3 separate regions of the Homo sapiens genome follow, and all the other regions are linked to region 3. The links are contacts of gene promoters, found by promoter capture Hi-C in human tissues and cell types (Jung and others, 2019). All regions are on one chromosome and are shown on one strand. The core of a region is centred on a gene start or on the middle of the fragment in contact, and the rest is flanking DNA. Distances in the headings are between cores, read along the strand shown. Region 1 overlaps BET1-AS1 (BET1 antisense RNA 1). Region 2 has its middle 13 kb from the start of TFPI2. Region 3 holds the start of GNG11 (G protein subunit gamma 11).

Region 1 (3,903 bases), core at 1,310-3,809, 54 kb after region 3:
CACAATTCAATGGAGGAAACTGTACATTTCAGTGGGAAGATTCTATTATTCTACTACTGCAAGACAGCCTTATCTTCTGCATATCATTTATTTTTGAAGCTGTAAACTGGCTGAATTCTTTAGTCTTTCCAACTTTAAAACTAGAAATTTTGCTCCGAAATGAAAGAGTATCAGGAATACAAAGGAGAACAGGAAAATCTGAGACTTTTTTCATTTAAGATCAATGAATTATTTGGTTATACAGATATTTGAAGTATAGTTAACAGATATCAAAAAGAAGTCCTGGGTTGCATTCAGTCATGGCTGCCACAGATGTCAAAACTTCACATGTGGGATGAAAGATTGTCCACAGTATGGAACAAGAGAGTTTGCAGTTTTTAAGGATTCTGCAGTCTTACTACTAAGCAAAAGCCTGGCATTTTAGATCTCCTATAGCTGTTGAGCAGAATTGAACAGTCATTCTTGAATCATATTTACTACATTGCTAGCTGATGACTAAAGTAAAGGCTCAAAACTTCAGCTGTATCTAGGAAGGTTTTGGGATCCTCAGTTCCCCGAACTTTTTGAACTACAAAGTGTATATTATTCCCATCCACCAGAATTTAGCTCTGGGGAGACAAACTCTGGAGAAGGAGTTTTCATGAAATAGATTTTCCATGTGAATTACTTGAACTGCTGTATAAAGAACTCAGAAAAAAAAATGTGTATGCATACAAACCATACATTTTAAAAACCTAGTGACTACTGATCATGGGGCGAGAACACAGAAAGACAGATAAGAGAGGTCTATAGGCTTCCCATGTATACCTCAACACCTGGCCTCTGGGCCCTGTGATGAGAAGGCTGAAACACAAAGGAATCTGAACAGGGACACTGCATACAAATACTGAATTATATGCTACATAAAGGTTTTAAAATGCACCAGGCCTGGGAAGAACCCCAACTAGAATACAAACTGTAGCAAATGTATCTAACTGTATTAAAAATGAGTAACAGAACACTACAGGAGGTGTAAAAGAAGAACTAACTTATTTTGGAAAACAATATTTTGATTGAATAGTATGAGGCTAAAGACAAAAAGAACTGCACACAAATAATATACTTTCCTTAGTAAATTTGTTCCCAAATGGGTACAGATTCATATTTCAGAAGCTATTTTCTTTGTATGCTAGGGTTGAAAAAAATACATGCATATATTGAAGAAAATGAGAGTCAGTTTTCTCTTTGTCTATAATAGAAAAGTTATATATAAGAAAAGGGATAGCTAGAATAAACCCTGTAGTATTGGATTGGAATTGTAGATATCAATATGAATTCATCATTTTTAAAGATAAATACTGACATAAACTTAGACATATGTGTATGCAATAACCAGTATAATATATGTATTCTGAAACCATGTTCACTGACAGGTACTAAAAGTAGTGACACTCTGTTAGTAGTAAGCACACCTGTCACCCAGATTTTTGTTTCTAATACCTTTATCTAATAAAAGGAACCAGAACTCCTTGGAGATATAGTTGATTCCAAGGCTGGCACAGAAAATATACAAGATAAGACTTTAGCCCCATGCAGCAGCAGGAAGTACGACAGTGCTCAAAAAAGAATAGGGCATGTTGAAAGGGCACAGGAGCCAAATGGAAAAGATCCCAATGCCCAAAGCTAGAAAAATTTACAAAAAGAAAAAATGTAATTGGATTATAATCCATAGAATAAAGTAAATATCTGTGGTGCCATAGTGATAAAGATAAGTATTTGAGTAGATACATAAATGTAGGAGAAGAGGCAGCTCTTCTTTAGAAAAAGATTCCAATTAATAAGTAAAGAAGGAATGAGGGAAATGGAAAATCACCATTAGAACACCACTAATGAATGCTGAAATTGTTGGGTAAAAGTTTGAGGAGAAATAATATTTGCATTTGAAAGTAACTCTTACAAAATATTTATTAATTAAAAAAGAAATATAGTAACTTTAGAGTAGAGAAAACTGGGAGACACCACTTTTAGAAAGTGATCCAGGTCAACATAACCAATAATTAGATACATTGACATCATACATGATATACATATATTGACATGATACACTGAGAGGGGCATATCACTTCTGTAGTATTCTTGCCAAAAATGCATAATCTCAATCTAATCATGAGAAACATCAAATAGAACCAAATTGATGGAAATTCTACAAAATAGCTGACCAGGACTCTTCAGAAGTGTCTGTTGTATCTGATGTAACAGATCAGAGGAAACCATAAAGACATCACAACTAAATGAGATGTGAGATCCTGACTAGGACTCTGGAACATAAACATAACATTAAAAGAAAAATTGGTGAAATTTGAAAAATGTCTGTAATTTAATTAATAGTATTGTACCAATGTTAACTTCTTGGTTTTGACCATTAAAGCAACTGTATTTTTCTATTTTTATAACTTTTCTGTAAGTAATGTTCTTACAAAACAAGAAGTTTTTAAAAATTGAAATAAAATGTACTAGAATATTGAGAATAGCTATCTTTGGAAAGTGAAAGTGCAGACGATTTTTATTTTTTCCTTAATTTTGTTTTCCAAAATCTCTACAATGAGCATGTGATATTTAGAAAATGCATTACTATTTTTATTTTTGGCCAGGAAATCCCTTATGTATGGCTTTAGTTGTAAAAAAATTAACAAATCGTGTTTTAATTTTAAAAGATAATGCAAAAATGTTTATATGACGTATTAGAAAGTGTCTGTAAGCTTTAATAGCAAAGGACATTCCACACCAGTTAATGCTGTTTTTTGCATAGATACTTAAATTGTCATTAAGTCATCCTTTATGTTTTAATTACAAGCATACTGCTTACCATTTTTGAAAGCCGAGATGATCCAGATATAATGGGTATAGGTGGAAAATGCTACTTTCTCTTGAGTAATTGAAGAATGTCATGATGTTCTCTTTTAATATCATGCTCAATCACACCTGCCAGATAACGATTTTTAATTTTCAAAATATTATGAGACTATCAAATGTACTTGTTAAAAACTTACTTCTTTCTTGGAAGATTTGGAAGGCTTCAGAGTCATTATTTTGACATGTCATGATATAATTCTGCAGCTGTGATAGATGGCACTGAAAGTAAGCCTCCTTCTTTTTAAGCTTCTGGACAAATGCTGAGGAACAGTCAAAATTAGCAGAAGTAGGCTTTCACTGCTACTGGTGAAATCCCTGGAACCTGAAGGATCCACTGTAAAAACAGATGGAGATCTTAGTTTCTAAATAATTTGAAAAAACAAAACAAAACAACATTTAAAGTAGAAGTAAATGTACTCTCAGAAGAGTTACAGAAAAACTGAGCAGGTATTCAGAGAATTAATGGAAGGCTTATGTGATAGAAAGCTTTCTAAGTCATTATTTTATCCTGCTTCCCTCCAACCCCTTCACATCCAGAACTACTTTTCACAGGATACATTTTAAAGATATCTACTTATTGTGTGTGTGTGTGTGTGTGTGTGTGTAAACATACATTCAGCATCTGCAAAGCACAATAAAGCAAAACACAATAAAATGAAGTACATGTACTCACTTAAAATGGCACAATGACCTTTTAACATAAGAATGTTTGGTATTGTCATTTTTATTTAAACTAGTCAAGCTTGAACGCCGGCAGGATCTCTGAACAATAGTTCTCAGGTAAATAAAAAATGTAATTTTATTGTTCTTTAAAAATAGCAATGAACATAGCATTACAGTGCTGCTTTTTTGCCTCATATTTCATCTCACCTTGACCACATGTGGTTAATAAAAGAGTACTTATTATTATTTTTTAAATTTTATTTCAATCGTTTTCGGAGAATAGATGGTGTTTGGATATACGCATAAGTCTTTTAGTGGTGATTTCTGAGATTTTGGTGCACCCATTAC
Region 2 (4,047 bases), core at 244-2,743, 45 kb before region 3:
ACTCCTCTCAGACTTAGCACCTCCAAGACATATCTCAGAAGATGGTGGCTGTGAGTGAGCTGATAAGGCTCAGATGTGTCTGAATGAGGAACATCTTGGCAGCAAAATACCAGGGAGAATATGGATTCAAGGTGGGCCTACATTCCTCTGAAGGACCAGCTGATTTAGAGAAGTGGCTTAGCAAAACAACCCTATCACAGCACAGAGGAGTAAAACTTCCCACAGGTGAAGGTAATTACTTGATAGTACATCCTATTTCATGAAAGAAAAAAAGAGGTACTATTGACAGAGAGAAGAGTTCTCCTTATCTCTAAAGCTGGATGTTCAGAGCTTTCATTTGTAATCAAATATGTCTCCTAGCTCAAAGTAAACTATCCAAGTGAAGCAAAAGCATTATCTTACATTGGTACTAAACCTTCCATTGGTCTTAGAATGGTAGAATACAAAAGTTTGTAATTTGGTAAATAATAAATAATGTGATAAAATAGAGAAGACAGAAATATAACCCTAACTGTATCCTTTGTATTATTAATTTCTTACATTAGAGATAATGATCATTTTGTGAAGGAAACATAGATATTATACACATCCATTTAGTGGGATGTTATTGTTTTTAACTTGAAAACAGATCATAAAGTAAACCTGAATGAATGTTTCCATATGGTTAAGAAATTACTCTTAAAGAGAAATAAAACACTGTAATATTGCAAAAATCAATACAAATCCTAGAAAAAGAAAGTCAATAAATAACCATTTGCTTATTTTTCAAAAAGGGAAAATACCTGTTATTAGCAGTTAAATGTTTGTTTTAACATTTGTTAGGACTATTAACTTAATAATTTTGAAATATCCTTATTTTAAACATAATTGCCTCCTTGGAGCATAACACTTAAGCTTGAGGTTAAACTACCGTGATTATTAATTATGAGAAATGACATTTTCCCACAAAAGTCAGATTCAGAAAAAAATATTTTACATTTTATTATAGACAGAAATATTGTTAAAAAGTGATAAATTGCTTACTCACTTAAAACTGTAGACTGTATTCGAAACACATTTGTTTTTACTATGTAATAATTAAACTGATGATATACTAACATTTATCTACCTTTAATGGACTCAATAAATAAAAAAGGACTGAGACTATATTTTTAAAATGAAAACCTATAGCTAAGAACTCTATGTGAAAAAAGAATTTGTATTTTACAAGTAAAAATAAAGTTATCCTAAAAGATTAATTTTTTTTTTTTTTTTGAGACGGAGTCTTGCTCTTTCGCCCAGGCTGGACTGCAGTGGCGCTATCTCGGCTTACTGGAAACTCCGCCTCCCAGGTTCATGCCATTCTCCTGCCTCGGCCTCCCGAGTAGCTGGGACTACAGGTGCCCGCCACCGCCCCCGGCTAATTTTTTTTTTTGTATTTTTAGTAGAGAAGGGGTTTCACCGTGTTAGCCAGGATGGTCTCGATCTCCTGACCTCGTGATCCACCTCCCTCGGCCTCCCAAAGTGCTGGGATTACAGGCTTGAGCCACCACGCCCAGCTGAAAGATTAATTTTAATATGCAATGCATAATATCAATTTGTCATGAGAATTATAGTACAGTGATTCAGATAAAAAATTCCCAGGAGAGGATGGCTAAGAACAGAGGGCAGACCTCTTCATTATCAAATATCAAAAGAGCTGGCTAAGCAAACGATGCAAGATTAATATGAGATTAACCTCCATTTTAGACTTAGAGGGAAGCAGCTGGCCTCTATTGAAAAACTGTAGTCTAGAACCATATCAGTTTGTGTCTTAGCATCAAATAACAGGTAAGATACAGTTACAAATGCATGCATAGGTTAAGGAGCCTGGGTTCTAAAGGTAGTGTCAACATATAATTTCTATTTTGTATGCCTTAAGAGATATGAATATAAAATCAGATTAGGTTACAAAAAGAGAAAAATCAATCCATGGTCTTTAAAACTTCAAAGAAAATTTTAACACGTTGTTTGAGACTTCCAATTTCCCTAAGAAAATAATGTATATATACAGTAATAATAATCTTTTCACGTAACTTTCCAAACCATACAGATTCATCAGGAGATCTTAATAAAACCACCCATAAGTTACTTATAGAGCAAAACTAAGAAAAAGAGAAAACATAGACTTCTATTTACACATAACTGAGGAAATAATATAAAAATTATGTGAAAAAGAAGAGAATGCAGTAGGGTCCCAGACTTGGTGAAACACAGATAATGTTACCCCAAGGAAAACACTCTTTTTCTTTGGTGTTTTCTTTGGGATAAGACAAGACCTTACTCCAACTAAGGTGTGTGGCCTGGTGGACCAAAGCAATGGCTATTGAGGAATTGGGGGAAGTGGGAGAGGCATGAAAATTGCAGGACCGGAGAGGTGGCAACCTTGTGAGAAGGCATTGCTTAGGGTGGAGTGTGAGGCAACCTAAAAAAAGTAGATATCCTTTGGAAAGAGACTTGATAGTGAATGGAAAGAAGAAATAAAGTGGTGAAAAGTAAGGATCTCATAGAAAGTTAAAAAAGAAAATAATAGAAGTGGAAGACACATCAACTCGTAAAAAAGGCATCATTTATTAAAGGCAGTGTACTTCCATGCACCCTCAGAAGAGAGTGCTCTTGAACTAAGCAACCTAGCAAGCTGCCGAAACCCCTCATAATGCACCATAGGAATGCTTGTTGTTGCTAATCCTGGAAAATCCAAGACACTTTAGAATGGACAGAAAGTCAGGCAACATTTACGTATAACTAGTGTAAGAAAAAGAAAGTGAAACTCAATTGTTTAATTTGATGAAAATAGTCCTAAAATATGCAACAGAGAAAAATGTTGATGCAACATTCAAATATAAAGTCTGTAATCTTTAACAAGCACTGGCAGATATATACATATTTGGATATATGTATATATATTTTAAATAATAAGTGTAAAATTGAACTTAACATGTATAAATAATAAATATATATTCCAATGAAAGCAATATCATTTCTTCTTAATAGGACATGAAAATTGATCTTACATGAAGTCACAAAGAAAATCTCAATAACAACTTGAATGTAGAAATAATGTAAGATCATTTATTCATAAATTATGTATATTTTTATATAAAAATGATTTTACGTATAAATGTTATATATAAATGATTTTATACATAAATGAAAATAATGTAGAAAACTTCTTTGATAGTTCAATAAAAAGAAAAATATAACAAATAGTAAGAACATAATGATAAAAGTTGCAGTTCACTGTGAATACATCTAACAATGTTATATATGAGTATAGATTCAATATACTTAAAATGTAACCAACAAAATCTAGCAATGCATTTAAAAAATAATATACAAATAGGTCATATCATTCAAATACAAGAATGGTATAATATCAGAAGAAGTTTTACATATTTTCCACAGATTATCTTATAAAAACTGTCTGACCATCTTGATTTCTTTTACAGATAGATCATTATTGATGTAAATAAATGCAACTGATTTTTGATGTTGATTTTGTGTCCTGCTACTTTACTGAATTCGATCATTAGTTCTAACAATTTTTGTGACATTTTAAGGATTTTCTACACAGAGGATCATATCATCTGCAAACAAAGATAATTTTGCTTCCTTTTGCATTTGGATGGCTTCTATTTATTTTTCTTATCTGATTGTCCTTGCTAGTATTTCCAGCAATTTTAATAGAACTGTTGAATAGAAGTGCAGAGGGTGGGCATCTTTGTACCTTGCCTTGTACTGTATCTTAGAGGAAAACCTTTCCATCTTTTAGCATCAAATAACAGGTAAGATACAGTTACAAATGCATGTATAGGTTAAGGAGCCTGGACTCTAAAGGTAGTGTCAACATATAATTTCTATTGTGTATGCCTTAACAGATATGAATATAAAAATCAGATTAGGCTACATAAAGAGAAAAATCGATCCATGGTCTTTAAAACTTCAAAGAAAATTATGTTGGCAGTTGGCTTTTTATAAATGGCTTTAGTTATGTTGAGGAAATTTTCTTCTATATGTATTTTGTTGAGA
Region 3 (4,168 bases), core at 1,458-3,957:
GTCATTTTTACTAAAGAATGGTTTCTACTCATACTACTTGTAAAATAAATTTTACCGGGGTACTATGTAAAATATAAGTAAAAACCTAACAAAACATTTGGACACAGCTAAACAAATTTTAAAATTTATTTATTCAAAATTTTTGAATATTGCTGATAAACTATTTCTGCAAGTATACATGAGAAATTGCTTAACATGGTTCTTCTCTGGGAGGTAAATTCGGTGTCTAGGCATAGAAGACTACACATCCTTTTGTTTAAAAAAAAATATTCTCATCATTTTACTATTTAAAACCAAACAGGGCCAGGCGCGGTGGCTCACGCCTGTAATCCCAGCACTTTGGGAGGCCGAGGCGGGCGGATCACGAGGTCAGCAGATCGAGACCATCCTGGCTAACACAGCGAAACCCCGTCCCTACTAAAAATACAAAAAAATTAGCTGGGCGTGGTGGTGGGCGCCTGTAGTCCCAGCTACTTGGGAGGCTGAGGCAGGAGAATAACGTGAACCCAGGAGGCGTAGCTTGCAGAGAGCCGAGATCGCGCCACTGCACTCCAGCCTGGGTGACAGAGCAAGACCCCGTCTCAAACAAACAAACAAACAAACAGGAAACCAGCAACAATAAAACCTTTTTCAGAATCCTGTGTGATCATGCAATTTCAACATTTTGCAATTCACTTCAGTTTAATCAATTTACTTAAGATATTAGAATATGAATTATTTAATAACAATAAAAAAGACTAACAAGTATTTTGTTTCTAATACGTCTCATAATACGATGGGAAAAGTTAAAGAACCAATATGGGCTTATAAGTATTTATCCCTCTAAGCAACTAGATGATTTCATGGGAAAGAAACTTCAAAGCCAAAATAATTATATTTTTATGACTTAGAACAAACACACATTAACAAAAAATTAGTCAGGCGTGGTAGCGGGCGCCTGTAGTCCCAGCTCCTCCGGAGGCTCAGGCGGGAGAATGGCGTGAACCCGGGAGGCGGAGCTTGCAGTGAGCGGAGATCGTGCCAGTCACTCCAGCCTGGGCGACAGAGCGAGACTCCGTCTCAAAAAAAAAAAAACAAAAAAACAAAAAAACAAAAAAAAGAACAAAAACACAATAATTTATTTAACCAATTTATTTAACTTAGGTGCTGAACCTATTTAATTTAGGCCACATTCACGTTGATTACTTTCACTAATTTAAGGTATTTTTGACCAACCTTTTAAATTTAAGTAATAGAAAATTTTAAAAATGAATTAGTGCACAAGACAGATATGGACATTTGTCTAGTCTCCCTGCTTATTTACAAGTAAACTTCAGTAGATGCTCTAACTACTCTGAGCTTGGAAAACCCTGGTATTTCAAATATTGAAAGTGAAGCTCTTAAACATTTTCTTTGTGAAAATGATTTATCATATATAGACATACCAACACAATTAGAGACACAACATAGCTTAGCTGATTCACTACTTCCCTGCCTTACTATACATTTTACAAATTAGAAAACCAAAACTAAGAAAAATTAAATGACTTCTTCAGTGATGGCCTGTGGCAGAGCTGCAACTACACGCCAGGAGTATTCATTAAGTGGTTCATTGTTTTTTTCATTCTAATTTATTCATTGAGGTTGAGCGGAGCGTGGTAAGAAACTAGGAACGAACAAAAACTCCTGCTTCCTAAACAGGGAATGGTCATGGGTGTCTTGGGTCAGCTACTCTGAAATATTAAGTTAATATTTCACTTGCCTTTGACTCTGTGAGGCAGGAGGTTATCTCTGGAAAGAAAGAGAAATATCCAACTGCTAGGGAAGGTTTCTTACATTCATGTTTGATTTTTCTTCTACTCTTTTGACCACCATCAACAAGACTTTAGTTACAGTTAAAGGGAAAGTTTTATTGCATGTAAACTTTTTTCACATCGGACACTTTTCCTGGCTTTCCAGAGCAACAGCTAGATAAATAGTGCTTGCCAGAAAGTGGAGAAACTAATACTAAATGAATCCACTGCCTACATCCAGGAAGGTTCAGGAGCCAGGAATTCAAAATCCTTGGTGTCAAGTGTCACCCAAAACTTAGGGTTGGGGAGTGGAGAAAGGCTTTCGGTTAAGAACTCTAAGATTCCTGCTTCTGTCTTCTCTTATATCATCCTTTGATGCACCCCTCTACATAACATTCCCCCGGAAAAATAAAAAAAATACAAACTCTGCTGCTGTTGAGGATGCAGATGATTATTTAATAATAGAAAATGTTCTTGCAACTTGTAAACGATATTCACACCCTGTTGCCCCCTCCTCGCCCAAAATGTATAAACCCATATTAGGCCTCGAACAAGCCGGATGGACACAAATGAGCAGAACACTGGTGGGTATTTCTGGGATTAGGGCTAAGCTTCATTTTCTTTTCAGCCTTTTCTTAAGCGTCCGCATTCTCCACTATGCATTTATTACGTTGGTGCAAAACTAATTGCACCAACCTATATATGTAATTAGAGAAAAGTAATTACTTTTGCAACAACCTATGTATGTAATTAGGGAAAAGCTATATCTAGCATATTTTTAAAACTCTTTGAGAGGTGAAGGGTAGTTATTTCCTGCTGGGTAGTGTACTCCTTTTCCTAGCTTCACAAACAAAACCCGGATGTGACTTGGAAACGGAAAAAAAAAAAGGAGCGGGGGTGCGCGGAGAACACAAAGTAAAACTTCTGCTGTTCCCAGTCCTGCAGCCCCAGCCCAGCCGTCCCCCGCGGGCGTGGCAGGTCCTGAGTCAGGGCCTGTCCGTGGCCAGCATCCCTGCTGGGCGATTGAGCAGCGGGAAGCTGCTTGGACCCAGTCTCAAACTTAACCCTCATCTAGCACCCGGGCAGGCCTCCTGGGTTGCAGGGACTTGAGAAAAGGCAGAGTTCTCAGGTCCTAGGAAGCTGGGGCACGCTGGCGTGACAAGCGTCCCGGAGAAAGCCAAGCCCTCGGGGAGCTGGGGACCGCAGCAGGGCTGCAGTCACATCCTGCGCGGGTGGGCGGCGGGCCAGGCCTTCAGTTGTTTCGGGACGCGCCGAGCTTCGCCGCTCTTCCAGCGGCTCCGCTGCCAGAGCTAGCCCGAGCCCGGTTCTGGGGCGAAAATGCCTGCCCTTCACATCGAAGATTTGCCAGAGAAGGAAAAACTGAAAATGGAAGTTGAGCAGCTTCGCAAAGAAGTGAAGTTGCAGAGACAACAAGTAAGTTGGCTGTTCCGGAATATTTCCTTCTCTGAAATGAAGCAGGGTCCGATTTTTCCTGCTTAGTAACAGTAAAGCAAATAGTTTAGCTTATTTTTCCCCCTTTTTGTAGCTTCTCTTCTCACCACCCTTTGGCAGTGCCTGGGGACTGCCAGCTGATGTGGGGAAATCCTAGGAGGTAGAGGAGGGAGCAAGGATCTGATAAGTAATTTAAGGCCAAATGTCCTAACTTTTAAGATGCCTAGGAAGGGGAAAATAGACAAGAAATCTTGCTTTCCATTAGACAGCTGTTTTTCAAAACTCACTTGTAGGAAAAAAGCGGATAGCTACTTGGTTCTTTGATCTTTTACACTACTAGAAAGGATGATATTTGAAAGAAATTTTCTAAAACCGTATTTTAAAGTCTTACAAGTACATTATTTAATTTTGAATTTCACCAGTGGCCTTCAGTGATATGCAAAGAACAGTCCACCGAAATTTGGGAACAAAATATTAGAATTTCTATATTTATTTGTAAATCTCATCCCTTTATAATTTTCACTTTATGTTTTATTAGTATGCGATTAATACAGTAGTATCTGTACTTATTTATAAATAATTATACATACACTGTGGTGCATATGAAAAATTTTTTTAGTGATCACAATTTTAAAGTTTTAGAGACTATTGATAGAGATTACCATTTCATTGAGAACATATGACCCAGTATTCAATATTCTCCACTGAAACGTCTCGGGAGTTTTATAAGTTTTACTTCAATTTCTTACTGGTCATCAAGACCTTCCTTCAGACACTAATCCCTCTTCCTGTTTTAACTCAATCAGGCATCCTGTAGACTAGGAAAGGTCTTTGAATAGATATTGTTTAAAGATAATTAACCTTTCCTCTTCAGCAAGAAAATTTTGAACTGATCTTATTTATTATGGTTTAGCACTAGAAAAAATTAAGAAAAACAATGGAAA

Evidence for each region. Contacts are between HindIII fragments. The study calls those that stand out against the background at their distance.
Region 1: a contact is called between a fragment that was not itself captured here and the fragment with the promoter of GNG11 in region 3, in 1 of the 25 tissues and cell types used here (H1 embryonic stem cells).
Region 2: a contact is called between a fragment that was not itself captured here and the fragment with the promoter of GNG11 in region 3, in 1 of the 25 tissues and cell types used here (thymus).

Annotation. Positions count from the first base shown.
Region 1 is chr7:93,972,875-93,976,777 of GRCh38, forward strand. All of the region lies in intron 1 of BET1-AS1 (BET1 antisense RNA 1), which reads left to right. It also overlaps a transcript of BET1 not described here. Among named protein-coding and RNA genes, the nearest start is that of BET1-AS1, 6.4 kb to the left of the region's middle. The HindIII fragment of the contact is 3,323 bases long and covers 899-3,903 here.
Region 2 is chr7:93,875,274-93,879,320 of GRCh38, forward strand. No RefSeq gene overlaps it. Among named protein-coding and RNA genes, the nearest start is that of TFPI2, 13 kb to the right of the region's middle. The HindIII fragment of the contact is 5,642 bases long and covers 1-4,047 here.
Region 3 is chr7:93,919,028-93,923,195 of GRCh38, forward strand. It overlaps GNG11 (G protein subunit gamma 11), which reads left to right and starts at 2,708. Exons shown (of 2, transcript NM_004126.4): 1 at 2,708-3,206. The coding sequence starts at 3,111. All of the region lies in intron 1 of LOC105375402 (a long non-coding RNA gene), which reads right to left. RefSeq lists an enhancer at 2,310-2,945. The HindIII fragment of the contact is 9,220 bases long and covers 1-4,168 here.